2 separate regions of the Homo sapiens genome follow, and region 1 is linked to region 2. The links are contacts of gene promoters, found by promoter capture Hi-C in human tissues and cell types (Jung and others, 2019). All regions are on one chromosome and are shown on one strand. Each heading gives the region's core, a stretch centred on a gene start or on the middle of the fragment in contact. The rest is flanking DNA. Distances are from core to core; before and after follow the strand shown.

Region 1 (5,833 bases), core at 1,686-4,185, 520 kb after region 2:
ATAAAATTTTGATAGCCTGCAGACTGTTCAGTCTGTGTTTGTCTCAATGGATATCAAATTGTTCTTTTATTTTAAAAGACTACTGCAAATACTCACTTTTCTTATTTCCCATATTCTCAATGATCTTGGACCAAGCATTTGAATATGAGATCTTTATTGTCACACTGATCTGAAGTTTGAGGTAATTGCCTAGAAAACTCAGCCTCAAGACCTGCTGTAACTTTTGACTGTGGATATTAGAGTTAAATAAATTGAAAGTTGTCTGATAATCCTCTTCCTGTGTGACAGCTCTGTGCAGAAGCTATGATTTTGTAAAATTCATTATCTCATTTTTACTCCATTAAAATAAAATTGTGGTAATAATAGTAAATGATAAATTCAACACATAATCACTATGTATTATTAGTTGGAATAGTCAATCAGCCAGTTAATGTAGTTCTGTCCACTGACATGCTAATGAGAACTTATGAGCCTGGGTAATTTGTATGGACATAGGGAATAGATAAAAAGGTAGATTAAGGGAATAGTTTTAAATTTAAAAACAACAATGATAATTCCAAGAAATCGCCTAAACCTCTGAAACAATACAGTATCATTTATGTACTTACAGGCTTATTCATATTTTTAATTGACAAGTTTTAACAGTAATCATAAGGCACAATGTGATGTTTTGAGATTACACATACAGACACAAACAGTATGGAATAAATAAATCAAGCTAATTAACATAGCCATAACCTTGCTTACCTATTATTTTTAGTGATAATGTCCTAGTTATTTGAAAATACACAATGCATCGTTGTTGACTATAGTCACCTGATGAGCAATAGATCCCAAAACGTGTTTCTCCTATCTGAAATTTTATAGTCTTTGATTAATAACTCCTCATTCCTCCCTCCTCATGCCTGTAGCCTGTGGTAACCATCATTCTATTCTCTACTTCTGTGAGTACAACTGTATTAGAATCTACACATAAGTGAGGTCATGTGGTATTTGTTTTTCTGTGCCTGGTTTATTTCACTTAGCATAATGTCCTTCAGCTTCATTCATGTTGTCAAAATGATGGGATTTTCTTCCTTTTTAAGGCTAAATAGTGCTTCATTGCATAGAATACAACACTCTCTTTATCTGTTCATCTGTTGATATACATTTAGGTTGATCCCATTTCTTGGCTATTGTGAATAATGCTGCAGTGAACAAGCGAGTGCAGATATCCCTTTGACATATTGATTTCATTTCCTTTATATAAACTCAGAAGAGGAATTACAGTGTCATGTGGTAGTTCTATTTTTAGTTTTACAAGGAAGCTCCATACCACTTTTATAATGGCTGTACTAATTTATATTTCCATCAACAATATCTAAGAATTCCCATTTCTCCACATCCTCTCCAACATGTGTCTTTTATATTTCTGATAAAAGTCACTCTAACAGGTGCGAGACGATACCTTATTGTGGCTTTAATTTGCACTTTCCTAATGATTAGTGATGTAAGCATTTATTTCATGTGTTTATGGGCCATTTGAATGTCTTCTTTTGAGAAATGTTTGTTCACGACCTTTGCCCATTTTTAATCAGGTGTTCTCTTGTTTTTGAGTTGAGTTCCTCATGTATTTCAGATTTTAATCCCTTATCAGATCCATGGCTTACATTTGTAGGCTTTCTCTTCACTTTGTTAATTGTTTCCTTTGCTGTGCAGAAGCTTTTTAGTTGGAAACCATCAAACTTGTCCATTTTTGCTTTTGTTGCTTGTGCATTTACAGTCAAATCAAACAATTTTTGTCCAGACAAATATGGACTATTTCTCCTGTGTTTTAGTACTTTTACAGTTTCAGATCTTAAATTTAAAATTTTAATCCATTTTGATTTGATTTTTATATTTGGTATAAGATAAGAATAAGATCTAATTTCTTCTTTTGCATGTGGATCTCCAGCTTTCCCAATACCATTTACAATTTGGTATTTAGATGCAATAGAATACAATAATTGCTAGCTGGATTAACAATGGCTTATTATTATATTATTTTAAAAAGGAGAAAAATGCAGATTCTTATTCATGAAGTTCATAATTACAATTACTGAGAGTAAATAACAAAATAAAGTCCACTTTCTATTTGGAATTTAGAAAATATCACAAAAAAATTATTAGCTTAAACTGTATATACTGGTCTACTCCTGTAATGTGAATATATATCATTAATATGACATACATAACAAACTTTATAATCAACTGCATAGTTTTGACTGTTAAAGGTAAAAAGGAGCTTTATCTCAATTTTTTATTATTTCATATATTTTAATTACAATAGCTGTATAATAAACATTCATGTGGCTTAACATTTTTCCATATTCTTACATAGACATAATTATTTTAATACGAGAGTTGTATTTTGTCAACCAGATATAACTTTGATTTGCTTAAGCATTCTTTTTGTTTTGTTTTGTTTTTGTTTTTGGGGGGGTGGTTTTTTGAGATGTGGTCTCGCTCTGTCACCCAGGCTGGAGAACAGTGGTGCCATCTCGGCTCACTGCAACCTCCACCTCCCGGGTTCAAGTGATACTCCTGCCTCAGCCTCCCAAGTAGCTGGGATTACAGGCACCCACCACAACTGGCCAGCTAATTTTTTGGTGTTTTTAGTAGAGACAGGGTATCACCATCTTGGCCACGCTGGTGTTGAACTCCTGGCCTCAAGTGATCTGCCCACCTCGGCCTCCAAAATTGCTGGGATTATAGGCATGAGCCACAGTGGCCACTTAAGCATTGTTTATTGAATAAAAATAATTTCCCTTTTAAGTTATGCTGCAATATGTATTCTTGTGCATGAAATTGTAAGCTTTGGCATGCATTAGGGTATTCTTTCTTCAGGTACTTTGATTTTAGAGAGACAGAACTATTAGACTTACTAGACATCTATTAGGGGAAGAATTTAACTGAAATAATTATTATCATTGAAATGCCAGGGGTTTGGTCTAAGGCCCATTGCTTGCCTCACAGAAGTCCAATCCCTGAGACAATGAGTATTGCCAGGGAAGAAGGCTTTAACTGGGTGCTGCAACCAGGGAGACAAGAGAGCAGTCTCAAATCCATATCCTCAATTGACTAAAATTAGAGGTTTATATAGCAGCAAAAAAAATGTAATTATGTGTAGGGAAAACAGGAATTAGTGAGGGGTATTAAAGAGGAGCTGGTCAACAGGAAGCAGTTGGTTGGTTTAGGCAGTCATGATGGGTGAGGGGGTCTGGTGTCTCACTGTCCAGATGCAGTGATCTGGTAAGTTTCAGTTCCTTCAAAATGTCTGGGTGGCCTGATAGTTGATTTCCTAAGAAAGGAACTTGGATAAGACAAATACAATTTTCTCAAGTTTTAAGACTGAGAGGGTGAATTTCTATGTTTATATAAAAAAATCATAAATATCAGTTCTATGGGACAGTTGAGCCAGTGTCATTATGATCTTCCATCTAATATCTATTTAAAATTTAAAACATGATTTCTCTAAAGAGTGAATTTAATACTATAATGCAATAGACTTACTATGAATAAAAGACAGATTTTTTTATACTTAAATTCAGGGTGCATGTACAGATTTGTTACATGAGTAAACTTGTGTCAAGGAGGTTTGTTGTACAGATTATTTTATCACCTGGGTATTAACCCTAGTACCCATTAGTTATTTTTCCTGATACTCTTTCTCCTCCCACCCTCCATCCTCCAATAGACTACAGTGTGTATTGTTCCCCTCTATGTGTCCACATGTCCTCATGAGTTAACTCCCACTTATAAGTGAGAGCACGTGGTATGTGGTTTTCTGTTCCTGTATTAGTTTGCTAAGGATAATGGCTTCCAGCTCCATCCATGTCCCTGCAAAGGACATGATCTCGTTCTTTTTTATGGCTGCATAGTATTCCATGGTGTATATATACCACATTTGCTTTATCTAGTCTATCATTGATGGACATTTAGCTGGATTCCATGAAAAGACAGCTTATTTAAAAAAAATAGGAGCCCATAAATTTTATCATTTACCTATTAATGAAACCTGCAAACCTGGAATTAATTAAAATACTCTTTTGTTGGTACTCATTATGCATCTTTATTTCATTGTCAAAGCCTTTACATGGCTTTTGCAAGTTCCATTGAAAGACTTGCCTTAAAAACTTATAAATTTTTGCCACAGCGTGTGTCACCTTCTAATGTATTTACTGTTTATTTAGGTCTTTCTCCAGTAGAATATAAACTCCATGGAGGAAGATAATTTTGTTTTGTTCACAGATATATCCCAAGTGCCTAGAAAAGTCCCTTGTACAGAGCTTGACCACAGTAAATATCTGTTACCTTAATCTTGGCTTGGCCTCTGCTGTCTATCTTTAGATAGTCTTCTCTTTTACGCTCACACTCTATATCTTTCCATATGTGGATTTATCTTACTTCTATATTGGTGTCACTTTCATAGGCCTTTGTTGTATGGTAGCCCCAAAAACTCCAGGCTTAACTCATCTATACAGCTACCCAGTTCCAGAGGAAATAGAGTTTCAACTTTCTAATAGCCCTAGTGTATTCTCAAGGGTATGCTTTTATTAGGCTGACTGGTTTATTTGCCCATTCCTGAGTCAGTCATTGTTATCTGGGTTATATGTAAGGAATTGAAATAGAATGCTCTAGTTATTTTGGGTGCTAATCAAAATCTGGACTGAGCAAAAGCAGGATCCCTTGGAGCTTGTTAGAAATATGGACCCTAAGGCCCCCACTCCAGACCAACTGAATCAAATTGCATATTAACTAGATTTTCTGGTGATGTGCCTTTAGTCTGTGCTCACAGATGGAACTGGAAGAGTGGGGAAGGCAATGAAACCAGCCCCATCCAAGCTGAAAGTGAAGTGGGAGTGGTTTCCCAGAGAAACTCAAGTGCTTTTACCAGAGGGCAGAATGGATGTCAGGCGTGCAAAACAACAGCTATCCAATGCAATATATGATGTGTATTAAGCAATTATTATATTCCAGTCATTGTACTAAACCTTTTCCAGGCATTATTTATTTAGTAGTCACAATATCTTGTAAGATATTATCAGGTAGGATACCTTATCCTTCAAAAAAGATAACTCATCATCCAAAGTTTTTGTTGAGAAGGCAGTGAGCAAAGTGATCTGAAATATGATATCAGATAGTAATAAGTGCCATGGAAAAAAATTAAGCACGATAGAGGGATAAAGACAGACCTAGGAAGATGAGAGAAAGTGATCAATTTTGATAGGAAGGTCAGAATAAACCTGAAGAAGTAAATTTTCAGCAAAGACTTGGACCAAGTAAAGAACAACTCATGAAAGTTGCAGGGTAACACCATTACAGACAGAAAAAAAGAAGTATAAAGCCTTGAATTGTTGAATTATGAATGAACGTGGGATGTTTGAAGAAATGTAAAGAATGAAAAAAAGTGGGGCTAGAATGAAGATGTTACTGAAACACAGGGGTTCTGTCTGTGTCCTGCTGCTTGCTGCACTGGAAGTCAATCACCAAGACAACCAGTATTTACAGGGAAGAAGGCTTTAATAGGTTGCTGCAGCCAAGGAGATGGGAAATCAGTCTCAAATTCATCTCTTCAACTGACCAAAATTAGGGGTTGATGTAGCAGGGAAGAAATGTAACCATGTATGGGAAACTAGGAATTAGGGATAAGGAAGAGGAATTGATCAACAAGAAACAGGTGGTTAGGCAATCATGACAGGTGAGGGGGTCTGGTGTCTCACTGTCCAGATGCGGTGATCTGGTAAGTTTCAGTTCCTTTATATTATCTGGTTGGTTTCCTGAGAAAGGAACTTAGATGAGACAAATGTAATTT
Region 2 (5,681 bases), core at 2,573-5,072:
TCTTCTTCTCACTGGTAGGCACTGGGAATATAGCAGTGAGCATTAGCCTTAGCTCACTGCTGTATTCCCAGTTCCTAGTAAATAACTGTCATTCTGTAAGTGCTCAATGTATATTCATGGGATGTATGACTGAACCCTAAGTTTTGTGCAGGCTGTCTTTACTTTCCTCTTTGTCTTCAAAACCTATTGCAGTGCTTAGCTCATTGTAAGTACAAAGGAGGTAAGCAGAGCCCCAGAGTATAAAGGTTCTTATAGGGCATGTTAGAGATTTTAGACAATTTCTTAAAATCAATGAGAAGCCACTTAAATGTTATAATTAGAAGAAAATATTATTAGATTTCATTTTAGAAAATAAAGTTATTGCTTTCAGTGTCCCTTAATAATGGCATCTCCATCATCCTACTCATCCAATCTTAATCTCTTAAAGTTATATAATACATTTTCCTTTATCCATCATTCCTAATAATTTGCCAAAACCTGGTAATTTAATTTCAGCAAGACATAACTATCTCACCCTTTATTTCCCTTTAGAATGAGCGCCTTGGTTAATCACATAATGGACAATTGTAGCTGCTAAACTCATATCCCTGTCTTTTGTATACTCTGTAGCTAAGGCCCTATACATTTGGCCTTATATTGGCCAATAGACATTCTTGGCCTGGTAGCCCTTGTATTGGCCTTATAGCCAAGAATTGTACAGTATTGGTCTTACCATTTATCTAAGCAAATACTTGCAATAGCTCCACTTTGATTAAAGATAAATGCCAAACTTTCTGTTTGAAAAAATATGACTTTTTAATAACTTTCAACACTCATTCAGATAAATTATTGTGGTTATTATTCTTATGAGGTAAATAATGATAACTACCTGATTTTTAAAAAAGTATTTAAACTTCAAGAAATATTGCAAAATTACTACAAAGAATTAACACATACCCCTCACCAAAATTTACCAATGGTGTTATAAAAGGTTGCCACATTTGCATCATCATTCTCTCTATAGGTATTTCTGGACCTTACAACCTCTATGTTCTTTTTACTGCAAAATATTTTATTATATTTTTTAAAGATCCAGGGCTTTCTTATATATGATCACAATACAATTAAATTAGGACACTTAATATTGATATAAAACTAATTTGATTATAAATAAAAGTCATACAGTTTAGATATTATAGTTTTTATTAATATTTTGAATTAGATTGTCTCAGTAATGCTCTTTATATTAATAGATATTATTCCCAGTTTGCTCTCCAATTCTGGATTACACATTGCATTTAGTAGTCATGGTTTTTAAATCTCCATTAGTCTGGAATATTTCCTCAGCTTTTCTTTGACTTTCATCACAGTGACATTTTTGAAAAGTATAGGCAAGATATTGTGTAGAATTTTCCTTAATTTAAGGCTTTCTTTGCTTTCTCGTGATTGCATTCAATTATGCATTTTTTAATCTGGAATCCTAAATCAATAATGTTATGTACTTCTCAGTGCATCATATCATGAGGCTCATGATATCACTTGGTCCCATTATTGGTGACTTTAACCTTGGTCAGTTGGTTAAGGTGATGTTTACCAGATTTATCCACTACATGTAATTTATTATTCGTTTGTAATTAAGGATCTATAGTATATTATAAAAACAGCCTCAAGTTATTTTTGTGTATGCATTCTCCTTGAAATATGGCATTATAGTTTCTCCCATCAAGACATGGACTATATTATCTATGTTTGGGCCATGTAACTTCCATGGCTAATGAGACACCAGCAAATGTACGTCCACAGAATCTCAGAGTACTTCACATTGGAGCTTGCACTCCCTTGTTGCTTTTTGGAGCCCTGCAACTACGACTACTGCTAGCCTATTGAAGGATGATGGGCTAGATTAAACAAAAGACAAAACATTGCAGCTGAGTCCCACACCCTCAAGACTAATAAGTATGCCACACCAGACAAGTGAGTGAAGCCATCCTAGATCTCTAAACCAAACTGAGCTAGCCAGGGCAGAAACCAACCTGACAACCCACAGAGCTTTGAGAAATTACAGATGTTTATTGGTTGGGGCTAATAAGTTTTGGAATGGTGTGTTATGCACCAAAAGCCAATACTTTCTAGGGTGATACTTTGGGACTACGTAAATATCCAATTACCCAAATAAATTTTACCAAGTTTATGATTCTGCCTAAGTTAAATATTATCACAAAGACTGCAAAATGGAATTGCGCCTTTTTTTAAGAGATGAAACATGTAAGAATGGGGGCTTATTTGTCTTTGAAAAACATAGGACTAGTAAGTAGCTGTATCAGCATCAGAACCCCAATCTTTTACCTGGTCCACAGTTTTTCTCAGTATGCCATGTAGAGGTGAGTGACCTGATGTTAGGACTGGAATTCACTAGAGAGAGCAGTAGAGAGACATTCCAGAGTGTTATGAGTGGGACCCTGTGTACTCACACATGCACAGAAGCATCTCTGGTAAATGCTCCATAATTGACGGTAGGGCAGGATGGACAATGTAGGAGGAGACATTAATACAGTTATTAACATAGAAATTTAAATGATACTTGACTCACGAAAAGATATAAAGATAATATCTCTGGAAATTGCCTTTCATGAGTATAATCAAGAATGGCATTGACATACTAGATTATGATTAATAGTATCATATGTTTGTCAAACGTGGCTGTTTAATATTTTTATGTAGTCGTTATATCCTCCCCCAATTCTGCCAAAAACATCCTATAAGATGTGTGAAGTGACACTGTGAGAAGCAAGGACCCCTGTCAGCCCTTATTACAAACAAGACAACTGACACCCGAAGGGCCAAAACTAGCCAAGAGCCACAGTGAATAAATTGCCAAGCAGGCACTTGAACTCGGCAATCCCAATTTCCTAGAAAAGTTCCTCTCCCATGGCAGTGGGGGACAGGTCCCAAGTCTTTGAGACGCTAATAATGTCTGCGTCTTAGGTTTCTGCCTTGTGCCAGGCACTGTTCTAAAATCTTTACATGTATTTAAACTCAGTACCATGGGGGTATTGGTACAACACATTAACTGAGACATTCATACGTCCAGGTACTTCGGAGTGGGTGTGTGTTTAATATCATACCTACTTGCCTGAGAAAGGAATTCAAAGCCCCACTTTTTTCTTTACCTCTTCATAAAAATTTGAGAGCCACAAGGAAGCGCTCTGTGTTTCCAGTACTCTTACAGTGCGTTCGGTGGCAGTAGTCACCGCCAACCAGAACACTAGGATCCTGCCAGGGTGTAGATACTGTAACCAACAAGAGGCCAACCTCCGTCCTTTCTGCGGAGGGCGCCGAAGCGTCAAGTACCCCGCAGCATCTCTCGGCTGGAGAGCCGACGGCAAGGGTGGGGTTGCCGGCGCTTTCCCCGAGGGCAGTCTCTGATCCTCCAGCTCCCCTCTAAGAGGCTCCCTGGTGCATTGGGCGAACGCGGTGCACGCAGGCCGGCTTTGGCGTTGTGGGGCCCCAAAGCGGCCAGGGGTCGCGAGGCGCCCTCCGGCGAGAGGAGCTGACCCCAGGGTTGCTCTTGGGGGCCGTGCCTGCCAAGTATCGCGGGACTTGCGCACATCGCAGAAGCGCCAGCTCCAGAAGCAGCTGGAGCGCGCTCGGTGCGCACCGCCCCAGCCCGGGGAGGAGCGGGAGCAGGGAGGGAGGAGGGCTGGGGGTGCTGGTTACGTAAATGATACTAGCCCAGTGAGAGGCCTCCAGGCTGGGGCTACGAGAGGAGGAGGGACCACGCGAGGAGGAGGGACCGGGAGGCGGCGGGCTGGGGTGGGAGGGGGGCGGGGGCCGGGGAGAAGTGACCAGGCGGCGGCGGCTCTGCTGAGGTGACAACGTGCTAGCAGCCCTCGCTCGCTCTGGGCGCCTCCTCGGCCTCAGCGTCCGCTCTGGCCGCGCTCGAGGAGCCCTTCAGCCCGCCGCTGCGCTATGAAGGCCCCTCTCTGGGGCTGGCCGAGGCTGGAGCCGGCTCCCTCTGCTCGCGGGCAAGTGTGAAGAGAGAGGCGCGGGCGGGAGCCGGGGCTGCGCGCGGCGCTCGCGGGCCGGCGCGGGTTCCAGGTGAGCGCGGACTCGGCGAGCCCCGCACTCGGCGCGGCCGGCCGGCGCCTGCTGGGCTTGATCTGAGGCTGAATCCCGTGTGTGGACCGCCGTTCCCTCTTCGCGGGATCGTTGGCCAGGATAGCAGGTCTCCGTCTCTTTCTCGCTTCCCCTCTTTTCCTCTTGATTGTCTGGGACGAGCTCCCTCTGGGCTGCCAGAGTGCCGGGGCTAGGTGCCGCAAAGTCCCGCGGCGAGTGCCGGGGCGCGGAGCCGAGCGCCCCGGGCCGGTCCCAGGGCAAAGGCAGGGGCGCGGGCGGACCTGGCGACGCGGCCTCCCGGGAGCTCCGAGTGCGCTCGCTTGCGGGGCTGCAGGTGTTGCGGGAGGACCGCGTGGCGCGGAACTTTCTGCCGCCGCCCACCTTCTGCTCTGCTTTTCTGGCTACCCCGGTGAGTTGTTGGTGGCGGGGGGGGGGGGGGGAGCGGCTCTGGCCCCCTCTGCGTTCTGGTGACGTTCCTCCGCGGGGGTGGCTCGGCCTCCAAGCCCAGACAACTTTCTCGCACCAGCTGCAGGCAGCCCCGGCTGCGTTGCGGGCGTTTCTACTCGACCCGACACCAGGCGCTCCCTGGGTCTTGGGTGTCTTCCTCGACGGTTGCCTTCGTATAGTGCCCCCTTTGCCTCGCTTTTTCAGAGTCCTCTTGCCTCTCATTCTCGCCGTGTGTGTCTCTGCCTCTGTTTCTCTTTCTGAGCCTTGGTCCCCTCAGTCCACACTCTCCGGCCATGTATCTGTTTTTTTCTCTTATTCTGTTTCCCTCTTTCTTTCTTGGGATATCTGTGTCCCTGTTAATCTGTCTTTCCTTTTGTCTCTCCGTTTTGCAACATTTGTTCTCTTTCTGTGTCTGCTTCTCGCAGCTTATCTCTGTCTCCCTCTGTCATCTCTCTGCCCCGTCTTCCCGAACACCAGCCCCGCGATCCCGAAGCGCCTTGGTTAGGGGAGCAAGCCCTGGCGCATCTAATGGGTATCTCCAGGTGCAGAGATTTTCCTGCGGGGTCAGTGGGGACGCGGAGGAGACAGCCTGCCCTTGTCCAGGCTGTCGTGGACCTGAAGGAGGGGCGCAAGGGGTTAGAGTGGAGGGCACCGCAGCAGGCTCCCCTTGCCGGGTCCGAGGGCGCTGCGCTGCTGCGAACCTGAGCGCACTGAGGCTGCTACTCTGGACAGCGAAAGCTGCGCAAGCCCCTCCCGCATACCCGATTCTTTGACTATGGTTAGTTGAATTTCCAGGAGGAGAGTCTGCCTCCCCAACCTTTATAGCCAGCTGCAGAAGAACGGACAGTGAGCAGGCAAACATAGATGCTTTGGGGTTCAGGGAAACTAACCTCGAAAGGGTGGGAGCTTTCTTCAGGCAAAGGTGTTGCTAGCAGAGGAGAGGAGCTTTGGGGACTGAGGTATGCCTGCCTTAAACTACCATGCATTCATTGCTTAGGAAAGCGGTTTCCTTGGAGAGATCGTGGTCAGCCTTCCCTGAAACAACATAACAACATAGAGGTTTTATTCGCAAGGCTAAAGGCACTTGGCTGCCAAAGCCCCCTTGAAATTTCTGGTATCCTTGAATATTTTCAGCTTTA

What was found. The method cuts DNA at HindIII sites, captures the fragments that hold promoters and counts their contacts. A contact is called where the count stands out against the background at its distance.
Region 1: a contact is called between a fragment that was not itself captured here and the fragment with the promoter of GALNT13 in region 2, in 2 of the 25 tissues and cell types used here (dorsolateral prefrontal cortex and thymus).

What each region holds. Positions count from the first base shown.
Region 1 is chr2:154,386,684-154,392,516 of GRCh38, forward strand. The region is part of intron 9 of GALNT13 (polypeptide N-acetylgalactosaminyltransferase 13); the gene reads left to right. Among named protein-coding and RNA genes, the nearest start is that of GALNT13-AS1, 68 kb to the right of the region's middle. The HindIII fragment of the contact is 5,965 bases long and covers 1-5,833 here.
Region 2 is chr2:153,868,100-153,873,780 of GRCh38, forward strand. GALNT13 (polypeptide N-acetylgalactosaminyltransferase 13) reads left to right here and starts at 3,823. Exons shown (of 13, transcript NM_052917.4): 1 at 3,823-4,204. The HindIII fragment of the contact is 9,874 bases long and covers 1-5,681 here.